2 separate regions of the Homo sapiens genome follow, and region 1 is linked to region 2. The links are contacts of gene promoters, found by promoter capture Hi-C in human tissues and cell types (Jung and others, 2019). All regions are on one chromosome and are shown on one strand. Each heading gives the region's core, a stretch centred on a gene start or on the middle of the fragment in contact. The rest is flanking DNA. Distances are from core to core; before and after follow the strand shown. Region 1 overlaps DPYD (dihydropyrimidine dehydrogenase). Region 2 holds the start of DPYD (dihydropyrimidine dehydrogenase).

Evidence for each region. Contacts are between HindIII fragments. The study calls those that stand out against the background at their distance.
Region 1: a contact is called between a fragment that was not itself captured here and the fragment with the promoter of DPYD in region 2, in 1 of the 25 tissues and cell types used here (dorsolateral prefrontal cortex).

Annotation. Positions count from the first base shown.
Region 1 is chr1:97,147,527-97,153,649 of GRCh38, forward strand. All of the region lies in intron 20 of DPYD (dihydropyrimidine dehydrogenase), which reads right to left. The region is part of intron 1 of DPYD-AS1 (DPYD antisense RNA 1); the gene reads left to right. Among named protein-coding and RNA genes, the nearest start is that of DPYD-AS1, 55 kb to the left of the region's middle. The HindIII fragment of the contact is 8,159 bases long and covers 1-6,123 here.
Region 2 is chr1:97,916,252-97,922,375 of GRCh38, forward strand. It overlaps DPYD (dihydropyrimidine dehydrogenase), which reads right to left and starts at 4,783. Exons shown (of 23, transcript NM_000110.4): 1 at 4,633-4,783. The coding sequence starts at 4,671. RefSeq lists a silencer at 4,589-4,988. The HindIII fragment of the contact is 7,083 bases long and covers 2,968-6,124 here.

The sequences.
Region 1 (6,123 bases), core at 1,824-4,323, 770 kb before region 2:
ATGTAAAGGGTCTGGAGAAGGAGAAGCTGGGAGAAGAAAGTCTACAGTTATAGCGCAGAAGAGTGGTCCTAAAAGCCTAAACCAGGATATTGATATTTGAGATAAAGATAAGACTATCCAAAATGCTCCTTCCTTTTCCTAAATATCCCAACTGTAAGACTTACACATATTTCTCAAGTTGTATAAAATCTTCTCAATGTCCTCTACGTCCTTAGCCCATCAGTCCATCTTATTTTCATGTTAAACTCTTCTGTGCATCATGTCAGGCTCAGTGATTGTGGAGCGAGTAATAGCTCTCTTTTACTGTACTTTGAGAATGGGTAGAATCAAGAGGGTGAGTGCAATATTGGTTTATACAACTTGGTATAGCCTAAGTTGGTAAGCATTTTCTTTTACCCTAAGTTACAAAGTGTGTGCACTTTGGATAGATACATGACTACTTTATTGTAGAGGCACAGGTTTGAGAAGGGAGATAAGTGCAAGGCAAACCAGATCCCTGAGTAGGTCTCGGGAGATATAAGCTAGAAACTCTGCCCACAGCCTGAATTATGGAAGCCTGCAACTGTAACAAATGTCCTGGGATGAAATGTCTGGAGCCTTAAGCTGTCATGCATGACAAGAACAGCTCTTTAGTGCCAGAGGTCTCTGTCTCTGGGGCACTGGTATATCCCTCCATTGCCCATGTGTTCTTCTGTTTGGTGTATGTGTAGGGTGTGTGTGTGTGTGTGGGGGGGGTGTGTGTGTTCTTTTGGGATATCTGCTTTGAAATTTCATCATCAAACTAGGCTTTTCCCTGATGAAAGTTCCATACTATAGAGAAAACATCCACATTTGCTTGCAGTTTGTGCAGCTTAAACTGAAGACAGATGTCTTGTGCAGCAACCACAATATTTTCATTTATCTCTTAATAGATTTCCATCTAGGAATCAAAAGTCTGATTTTATTTTTCAACTCTGATGATGAATACTAAGAATTATTTTAATTATAGATCTATTTCATTCTGCAGGAAATAAGGAGAGGCATTTTGAAGTTTTTTTCTTTAAAGACCTCAATAATATTTATCTTCTAAATGGGATTTTCATACATACCATGACAATCTTATGGATTACTACATATTGGGAGATACCTACTATGGAATCCCTGGCAATATCTAGTTTTAATTAAAATGAAATGTCATAATAATGTCATCCCACATTCTGGTGTCACGACAAACATCTTTGAACTCCTGTGATTAAATAAGCAGAAACACTTGATAAAACTTCTAATGATTCTTCTAAAGAAACGAAAAATCTTACAGTTCATTGTTTGTATCTCCTTTACAAGTATATCCTTTCTTGTATTATAGCTATTTAGATCTTAACTTTCAACTCAGTTATAAGCTCTTAATAGAAAATACCTGCATCACTCTAAGTTTACAACAGAGTCTTTTGTACGCTTTGGGCTTGATAGATATTAATGAAATGGAAAGGTAAAGGTAAATGTTTCACGCCCTTTGGAATTAATCTCTATTGTACATACATAACATGCAGATGCACTAACAGAAGATGACAAAAATTAGCAATCTTTTGAAAACTAGTATTTACTAAATGGATGTAATATGTGTTGATTATCATAAGTTAGGATTGAGTAAACAATTAAAATGCTCTACTTGGACCAAATTGAAAGCCCATATTACTGGCAATCTGATACAGAATTATAGCTGTGTTTCACTTGTGAAATAGAGATAACTTTTTTTATTTTTTTGTAACAGAGTCTCGCTCTGTCACCCACGCTGGAGTGCAGTGGCATGATCTTGGCTCACTGCAAACTCTGCCTCCTGGGTTCAAGTGGATTCTCCTGCCTCAACATCCCAAGTAGCTGGGATTACAGGCATGCACTGCCACGCCCAGCTAATTTTTGTATTTTTAGTAGAGACAGGGTTTCACCATGTTGGCCAGGCTGGCCTCAAACTCCTGACCTCAGGTGATCTGCCCATCTCAGCCTCCCAAAGTGCTAGGATTACAAGCCTGACTCACCGCGTCCAGCTGATAACTTTTGTCTTTCTCCAGTGTCATTATCCTAGTTTATAACATCATCTTGCAACTCGATTTCTATAGTAGACAGTATTAGCTACATAATTTGGGGACCCAATGAAAAGTAAAAATCCAAGCCTCCCAGTTTAAAAATTATTATGAATTTCAAGATGGAGTTGTCAGAGCATTAATCCAAGAGCAGGACCTTCTGAGAGGGAAGCTTTGTGCTATGGCACAGATTGCATACCCACAAAGCCAATTCTGCTAACCACCTCATAATGATGTCTGTAACTTCATTGCATCACATTTCCTATATATTTTCACATAGTAACATTACGATGTATTTGTATATTTTCACCATTTCTGTGTAAAACCATTTGGCAGTTTCCCTTTGCACATTTAATAAAATCCAAATTCTTTGTCATGGTCAACGAGCCTCCACATAATGTGGCCATTGTCAACCTTTCTAATACCATGTGGCGTTACTTCCTCTTTTTTTCTCTAACTTGTGCCACAAAGGCCGTCCTTCAGGTTTTTGCACACCTTCACAAATGCTACTCTCACCAGTGGAACGCTGTTCCCTGGCTCCTCATCCTTCACATATCATTCCAAATATCTCTTTCTCACAGAACGCTTCCCTGATACCCAAATTAAAGTAGCTCCACATTCTCTATTTTTCTTCTAAGCATGCCTTTTCCTCCTGCAAATGTTTAGTACACACTGTATCTTAAAAAAAAAAAACTAAAATAGTTTCTGTCCATGATTAGCTTGTAATCTCCAAGAGAACAAGGACCAGTCTCTCTTCTTCGCTACAGTATGACAATGTTTAGCACATTGCCTACTTCACAGTAGGTGCTTAATAAACATTTGCTGGATGGATGAATAAATGAATGAATGAAAGCACCATTCAAATGTTCAAGAACATTTTTCTCACTATTACTATTATTTTCACGTAGGTAAAATATAATTTGCTTGGGCAACCAGAACTATAATAAGCTCACCCAGGCATTTTCTTGTGGGCACTGGGCTCTCTCTGGGTTCTCCTCTGAAGAAGCCCTCTTCTCAGATATACTGTATATATGAATATTTATTTCTCTTATACAAAAGAGGACCTCAGAGCTAGGTACATCACTGCATCATCTGCTTTCATGACTTCTGGATGGAGTGAGACATGCTTCTTTCTAGGTCCTTCTCTTTTCCATTTTCTATTTTACTTAAAGAGAAGGAGCTGTTAACATATTGAAACTAACCATCCTGTTCTTCTTTAGCTTCAAATAGAACTAAGGCTGTTTATAAGAAACTACACACAAATAGAATATATTGCATCTTCCTGGAATTCTAGTACATTATAATGACAAATGTTTTTCATTGCAATATTCATTGCATTATGTTCAATTGTTTTTGTTGTTGGTCTGGAAACACCAGAAGTGTAATTACTAGCTTTGATAAAGTAATAAAGTCAATGGAATAAACTATGCTTGGATTATGGCCTCTTGTTATAAGATAAGCAAAGCTAAGTCAATACCCAATAAAAATTAATACTGATATCAAATCCAGCTATCTTATGTTCAAAATGAGAAATCATTACCTTCTCGTAACATTCTTCTATGAAATGTGTTCCTTTTAAAACATTAAAACTGTAGAAACATTAAAATACTTTACATATATTTACATATACCTTACTGTATTTGAGAACATATATAGAGATTATACAGATATAATCGTACATATATATGAGCTCTTTTGATTCTTTACAACAGTGCTGTGAAGTCAACTGGGAAGACTGAATTATCTCCAGTCTCTAGATGAGAAAATCAAGAATCAGAAAGATTATCTGGGGCTGGGTGCAGTGGGGCTGGGTGCAGTGGCTCATGCCTGTAATCCCAGCACTTTGGGAGGCCGAGGCAGGCAGATCACCTGAGGTCAGGAGTTCGAGACCAACCTGGTCAACATGGTGAAATCCCCGTCTCTACTAAAAATACAAAAATTAGCCAGGCATGGTGGTGGGCGCCTGTAATCCCAGCTACTCGGCAGGCTGAGGCAGGACAATCGATTGAACCTGGGAGGCGGAATTTGCAGTGAGCCGAGATTGTGCCATTGCACTCCAGCCTGGGCTACAAGAGTGAAAGTCTGTCTCAAAAATAAAAAAATAAAAAAATAAAAAAATTAAAAAATGAAAGAAAAGAAGAGAAAAAGAAAGATTATCTGGTACTATGCAATCAGCTATTAATACAGACAGAATCCAAATCTTCAAATCCCTGTTCTTTCAATTTTACTGTTAATATGTTCCAAAATGCATTTTAAATTAAAAACATACTAATGGTCATACTCTACTATTCCATAGAAGAATTTAAAAATGGAAAGTTATTCATGGAACAGTTTTGAAGTAGTATATTATCTGAATTTGTCTAGTATATTTTATTAAGCTCTCTTCAGCCTGTCCTCATCAAAAATAAGTATTACATTAACATTACAGTTATTTAAAAATTAACCTTTTCTAGGCTGGTTTAATTTTATGGATAATGTATTAATCAACATGGCTTGAAGTTTCCTATCAAAATGCAGTCAAGGCCATTTACACTACTATTTTCAGGAATCTCCTTCTGCTACCTTTGTAAAGCATTTACTTCATAGGAAGCATTTCAAACACTACTAGTGGAAAAATACACTAGGCAATTATAGCCAAAGTTTCTACGGATGTGGCTAATTTATTTCCTGGTTTAAACCATATCTAAACGAGATTTAAGAGTTCAAGAGCTGGGAATGAATGGACAATTGGGTTATTTTGTATTCTGTGGAGTGAGATTTGCAGTCAATGTCAGTATTAAATCTAGGTGTAAAATGCAAAGGTGCGAAGTTTGAATGATGCCTCCACTTTGTTAGGTGATGGCTGAATCACATACACACACACACACACACACACACACACACACTTACATAAACACATTGAATATATACACAAATACATGCAGATATAGTTAATATCTATAAATATATCTATTAAATTATAATATTAATGTCACGTAAAAATACACAGATACCCATATTTAATAATTTTTAAAATATACCATATATAGTACTTATATCTATTGTATATAACATATATATGCAAGGCACACATGTAGATATTGCTGTATATATTCTGTAGACTAATATATTGATATATATAATTATCATATTTATACAATATTATCATCATCAATGTTTTCATCAAGTTGTCACTCTCTCAGGTATAGCATACCTGAGAACTGAATACTTTTCAAGTTTATGTTTAGATGGTTTTCATGGTTGCGTTTTCCCACTGATAAAGTAGAATTTTAAATATAACTTGTCTTATTTTTATCTGTCCTCAATTTGAGTGTGTCCTAGTTCATTAAATTTAGAAATCCCTTCTCATTGCCCCTCTGCCATGTAGTTAATGGTCTGTAAAACACTTAAAAACACTAGAGGAGTTCATTTTTTTAAAAGGGGCTCTATGGAGAAGCCTTCTAAAATGTAAGAGTCTTTTGTAATCACCTATTTATTTACTTGTACTTTAAGTTCTGATTTTCATCTAGTAGAGGCATTCTTTGGTCAAGGCAAAACTGCAGTATTCTCTGTAGCTTAATATGAGTATAGCTGATAACATCATACTTTTTTCCATTACTACTATACTGAAACTAGTCTAGAACCTAATGAGCTGAATTGCTATCCAAAGGAACAGGATTTAGGTTCAGATGGGGAAAAAGAGAATAACAGCTGCATCCACACTCCCTTCCACATGATCTTGTTCATGAGCAATATGATGACCTGGCATGACGTGCAACTTTAGGTCTGGCTCTATAGCCCCAGGAGAACATGGCGAGGACAGTATTAAAAACGTGTCTATCCTATTCAACAAATGGTGCTGGGATAATTGGCAAGCCACATGTAGAAGAAGGAAACTGGATCTTCATCTCTCACCTTACACAAAAATCAACTCAAGATGGATCAAAGACTTAAATCTAAGACCTGAAGCCATATAAGTTCTAGAAGGTGACATTAAAAAAAACCTTCTAGACATTGGCTTAGGCAAAGACTTCATGACCAAGCACCCAAAAGCAAATGCAACAAAAACAAAGATAATAGATGA
Region 2 (6,124 bases), core at 3,533-6,032:
ATATACATGTGCCATGTTGGTGTGCTGCACCCAGTAACTCGTCATTTAACATTAGGTATATCTCCAAATGCTATCCCTCCTCCCGACCCCACAACAGGCCCCGGTGTGTGATGTTCCCCTTCCTGTGTTCATGTGTTCTTATTGCTCAATTCCCACCTATGAGTGAGAACATGCGGTGTTTGGTTTTTTGTCCTTGTGATAGTTTGCTGAGAATGATGGTTTCCAGCTTCATCCATGTCCCTACAAAGGATATGAACTCATAATCTTTTTAAAAGTGAATTTTTCTTCTAGAATGTAACAAAGGAGGCTACCAAATTCCAGCACACTTTACAATTAAGCAATCAGTCAACACCATTTGCTATCATTAAGATTAAGCAGATCCAATCTAAAAATCACCCTCCATCAAGATCCATCATTAGTCATTAATCTCCCAGATTTTAATTAAACTACCAAAACTATTCATCTGAATTCATATGCAAAGGATAGAATTTTTCTTTAAACTGCCCACAACTTTGGTGGGCCAAGCTGAAAGGTTCGCTTGAGCCCAAGAGTACAAGGCCAGCCCGGGCAATATACTGAGACCCCCATCTCTATTTTAAAAAACTGCACTGAAACACATATCAACACACTCAACTACAGAAATATGCAGTACCTTAAAACTACAGGAAGCTACCATTAGAATCAGTGACTCCTCAAATCAGATAATCAGACACATTTCTACTATCCAGCTAAACTCCTTAGAAAGGAGAAACACTTTAAAGTAAAACTATGGCCCACAAAACAGCTTAAAGTAGGAAGTACAAGCATGTTTTCAACAACTCTAACTCACAAAATAGTTTTAAAAAGTTAAAGCTTTAAAAGTCTTAATTTATTTAAGAATATATTTCCAAAAGATCTGCAGTGCCCAGTCAATAAAAGGAAGGAGAAAAGAAATGACTGATGCTTACACATTCAGTAAAAATATATCCATTTAAATCAATAAACAACTCATGGCTTTGTATAAAGTGGAATCTTTATTATCTTTTTTGGATCCATGATTCTCCTTCCTCCCCAGCAGCAAAGGCAATTATGATAAAAGATGTTCTGAAAATTTTTTTGCCATCTCTGCCAATTTATAACCCATGACTTTCCTTGTTTCAAAATTTGTAAAGTCCACTTTCTCCAAGTCTTTCCCATTATGCTTCTATTTTCCAAATTCGCTATTTTTAATCTCATTTTCCTAGTTAATCATACAGAAAATTCCCAATTACCTTTTCAAATGAATAGAAGTCACAGTATCAGTAATTCCGAAACCATTTCTGTTTGACTTAAAATGCATTTGATTTTGTGGACAATGGACTAAAATCCCTTTTTCATTTAGGGTAAATGTGAATTAAGTTTATAACCCTTTAACATTCACTAACTGATCATTCAAGGAATGGGCCTTGTGATTGTGACTGTGGTAGCAGTACAGTAACAGATAGCAACTTGGTTTGGCTACAAATATATATCAAAAGTACTAGTATTCAAATAGTTAAAAGCTTGCTGCAGCTGCATACATTTCGTTTAGATATATATACTTTCAAAGTCTATTCTCATTATCCTTGCCGGTGGAGGGGAACAAGGTCTTGAACAAAAGAGTACTGTTTCAAAATAATTCTCATTTCCTTTCAAGTGTGCAGATATTCACAATATACTGGCTGTAAATTCAATCTAAATGAAGAAGTGCTGTTAAGTTACTGCTGAGGCCTGGGAAAGTGACCAATGTCCAATACTAACCTTCTTTGAAACCATCCCAGGAGAGTTTGTATTAAAGTCATCGTTGACAAAATTCAGACTGTATCCAAACAGTACACTCACAAAGCAAAATAACTTCTAAAAGCATATAACTACTATTAACGGACTTTAAAATGCTAATCATTTCATTGGAAGTGATTTTCCTGAGAATAAGATATATTTTTCTGTTATCTTTATTTTTTAACATTTTTGTCCTTTTTCCCAACAAGATGCTGTCAACTTGTGACATTTGTTTATTATCCTTAGCAGATTTTCCATGTGCAATTCAGAGAGGCTAACTTGCCCAAACACACAGCTTAAAGTTAGACCTCAATCAGAGGCAGTTGGTTTCAGAAGCCAGGCTCTGAACCACATTAATATATCTGAAAAAAAACATGATTTCTCATGCAACTTCTATGATTACAACAACAACAACAACAATTCTGAGTAATGAGCTAGGTCCTATTACCAAGTAACACATCCTTTCCTTGCCTATCTCCCAGCCCAGGGATATTCCAGCTATGGAGTTTGGTGATCTGATTGTTTTCCATGTTCCTAACCGTCAAATCCTGATGTGATATTGGATTCAGACTAGAAATTATGAAGCAGGCACACAAAGCACCTTTATATATACCTCAATAACTTTTCCCCCAGAAACAAAGATATTTCTTGGCTGTTTCACTGAAACCTGAGGTTCTGTAGTTAGCTCATAGGGAAAAGTCAGTCACTATTAGAGTAGGTTGTTATCATCACCTTCTGTTCTTTTAACAATTGTCAAGTACTTTTCACATTTATCAATGTGTTCTTATCACATTCATTAACTGCTTCATACCAATATTTTTAAAATATTACTTGCTTATCCATGTATTTGAAGCTAAAACAATGATCACAATCAGATCTCTAGACAATGGTTGTAATGAATTTGTTCAAGAAAAGCATTCAAATTTGATGGAAAACTGAGCCTTTATAATTCATTCTAATTCTTCAACACAAAAATGAACTTTGGTAAATCAATAGGATCAACTGAGGCATTTATGCTTGAATGTGCTCCCCTAAGCTTAATGTATTTTTCCTCACTGCATTATATTTTAATGATTAATTTCATGCTCTTTCATGGTATTCTAGCTCATGAATCACGGGTATTACTTTGAGGGAAAAGTAAGGTGCTGTGAGTGATGAAAGATGTTACTGATTAAAGTGTTGCACATATGAACTACATAAGAGCTGAAGGTGTTTGAACACCAGCAATCTAGATTAAAAGTAATATTAGGCAAACTGGCCATATAGACTAAGGTTGAATTGAGTGGAGGGAGTGGGAAGGATGGGCTTCTTAAATGTTCTTAGTTGAAACAATATATGAAATCAAGCTTGGCATTCAATGTTTCACTGGCATCTTTCTCCTCAGTAGAATGTAAGAACTGATTTCGAAGACAACTGCAGAGAAAGAAATCAGTTAAGCAGATAACACACCATTCTGAAATTAAAGAGCCAAAAGCCACCCATCCTAAGTCAACTCCGATATCTTAAATCAATACTGCCTTAATACTGTCAGAAGCTTGTTTTTCGACTTAGTAAATAAAATTTTTTAAAAAGTTAAGTCAAAGTCACAAGGACCAAAAAGGAATAGACTACCCTAAATGAAATATAGAAAAAGACAAGTATCTATTATCCTGCACACAGATGAACAACTATTTGTTAAATATATCATATTGCTCAATATCAAAAAGTCAACTCTCCAAAACAGAAACCAAAAGTAAACTAACCAGAGATGTCCACATAATACACTTTGGCTCTTGTTACTAAAATGATTTTTCAAACCAAGTTATGGAGCCTGGAGAAAACAGGACTACTTCCTCCCAGAATATAAAGTTTCTTCAATTACGGAGGCAAAATGTGGCAAAAGCAGCTATTTTGCAAACAGGTGGTTTGCAAAACTTTTACTTAAGCCGCCAAAAGGACTGACGAAAGGAAAATTTTGTTATTTCTAAAGAAAACACACACACACATAATTTTCTACCAGAGTAGAAGACTCAAATAAAGAAAAGCCCCAAACAAAACAGAAAACTAAAAATCAGTTTGTCTTAGCTCAAAAGTGCTGACCTAGGTTTAGTATGTGTAAAATCACTGTTGATAATTAAATCCTTTTCATCGCATATATTAAGATACTAGAGAGAAAGGAAATGCCATGTCGTTTCAGGTAGGACCTTATTTACATAAAAAAAGATTTTTTTTAACAGAAACGGAGTGCAAGAGGGAATCAAAAACCGTTGAGAGGAGAGAAAAATACAGTTAGTTTTTCTGAGGGCACTGCATTTTTCATGTTCTGAATACTTCGTTCCATTCTCTCCATGTTAAATTATTTCATAAACAATACTATGACTAGAGGCGACTGCTACAGCTGACACACAGATGTTTTATTTCTATGCTTCACCTTTGCAAATAGCAGGATTCAGCTATTGGAAATGGGGGCAGTGGAGGTGTCCAGAAACGACATACAGGAGGTGAAGGGGTAGAACGTGTGGGAAATGGGCACTCCTACCCCCTAGAGTCCACCTCTCTGGAACTCCAGTGCTTCTTCAGTCACTGACATTCAGAGGAGGACAAGACAGGCTTCCTGAAATCTCTTCCGAAGTAAACAGGTCCCGACGCAAAGGGCAACCCCTCCAGTAGCGGAAAGTCCTCCCCTGAGCTCCCCGCCTGCCCACGCGGGCCTGTGGCTCCGCGCTCCTCCGCTCCCCCGCAGAGCTCCCACGGGGGAAACTTTCCCGCGTCTCTCACTCTCCGGGGTGCGGGGGCCGCGGGGGCCTCCCCGGCACCTACCCGCAGAGCACTCCCCACCACCCCGCCACCACCGACGAGCCGGCGCGAAGTCCGTACCTCGATGTCCGCCGAGTCCTTACTGAGCACAGGGGCCATGGCAGTGCCTACAGTCTCGAGTCTGCCAGTGACAAACCCTCCTTGCGTCCTCAAGCTCCAGCCAGAGAGCCAAGTGACAGCAGCCGGAGCGCGAGTCGAAAACAGGCAGACTAGGGCCGGCGGCGCGGGGGCGGAGCGGGCGCGGGGCGGCAACGCCCCCGGGGCGGGGCTGCGCTCTCGGTCCTGCGGCTCCCGCGCCAGGCACGGCAGCCGCAGCCCGGCCTTCCCAGTTCAGCCCGCTCCGCGCCCCAGCCTGCAAGCAGAAGGGAGGGAGGGAGTAGAGCACCCGCTCTGGGGACTGGCCTTTAATCTCTAAACTGCTAAAAACAGAGCTAGGCAGGCGGGGCCAGATAGGAGGGATCCCCAGGCAAAGGTAAAAGCAGTCCGCGCTCCAAGCAACAACTTGCACTTTTTCTTTTCTTCCACAGAAACCCCGCGAGATGTAGATACATTGTTTGAGGGGCAACTGCATTTTCAGGAACTCCTCAAGGATGAAATAGTAGATGTTCCTCCATCCATCCACCAAGTAGGTGGGCGGGGTTTGAGCTGCAGTGGAGGATACCAAAGCACCGGTCTTCTGAGAGTTCACAGCCCCAGCGGGGAGGGGAGGGAGGCGAGCAAAAACATCCACAGCCCGCAGCAGCATACAGGAAGTGCTGCAGGTGGTACATAATCAAGGTTGTCTTTTTGCAGGAAAGTCTCATTTTAATGGTTATTTTTTTAAATATTTTTTATTCTAAAACGTGAAACTCTTTTGAAAAGTTGCTCTTCGTTTTTGCTCTAGAGCTTGCTGAGGAGAAGGGAGAGATTTCCTGTAGAGTTGGTCCCAATCCAGAAAACATTCACCTCGTTTTTTGAGGATATGTGTACTCCAGACCTCTCTCCTTTTCTCCCCGCCCCCCCCCCACCCCTGTTAGATGCATCCCACCTCTCTTCTACCATAACACTTTCTACTTCCGTTAGGACATTTGCGGCACTCCTTCATGCACTTGGCTAGGTAGTGACACCTTGGAGTCAAGTATTTCTCCCTTATTATTTTTTCATTAGTCCATTCATCGTTTTATTCAACGAATATGTTTATTGAGCATTTTCAATATGCCAGACACAGACACTGTGCTAGGTTCTCCGGATATAGTCTTCAAGAATACACATCACTGTCATGGAGATTATACTCAAAATAAGCAAGTAAGAAAATGTGATGCCTGCTTGTAAGATAAAAGAAAAATAGGACAGAATAACTAGGGTATGGGTACCTTGCGTGGTTGAGAAGGCTTCTCTGAACAAACCATCAGATTACCTTCCAGAACCTGGAAATTACTAAAAGACAGATACATTTTTCTTGAATCAAATATTAACAGACACTAGAAAGTTAAATGGAAACCTTAGAATCATCTTTGACTCCTTTATCCTTATTGCCTCATTTAATCTATGCCCAAACTCTCAGAAGTCAACC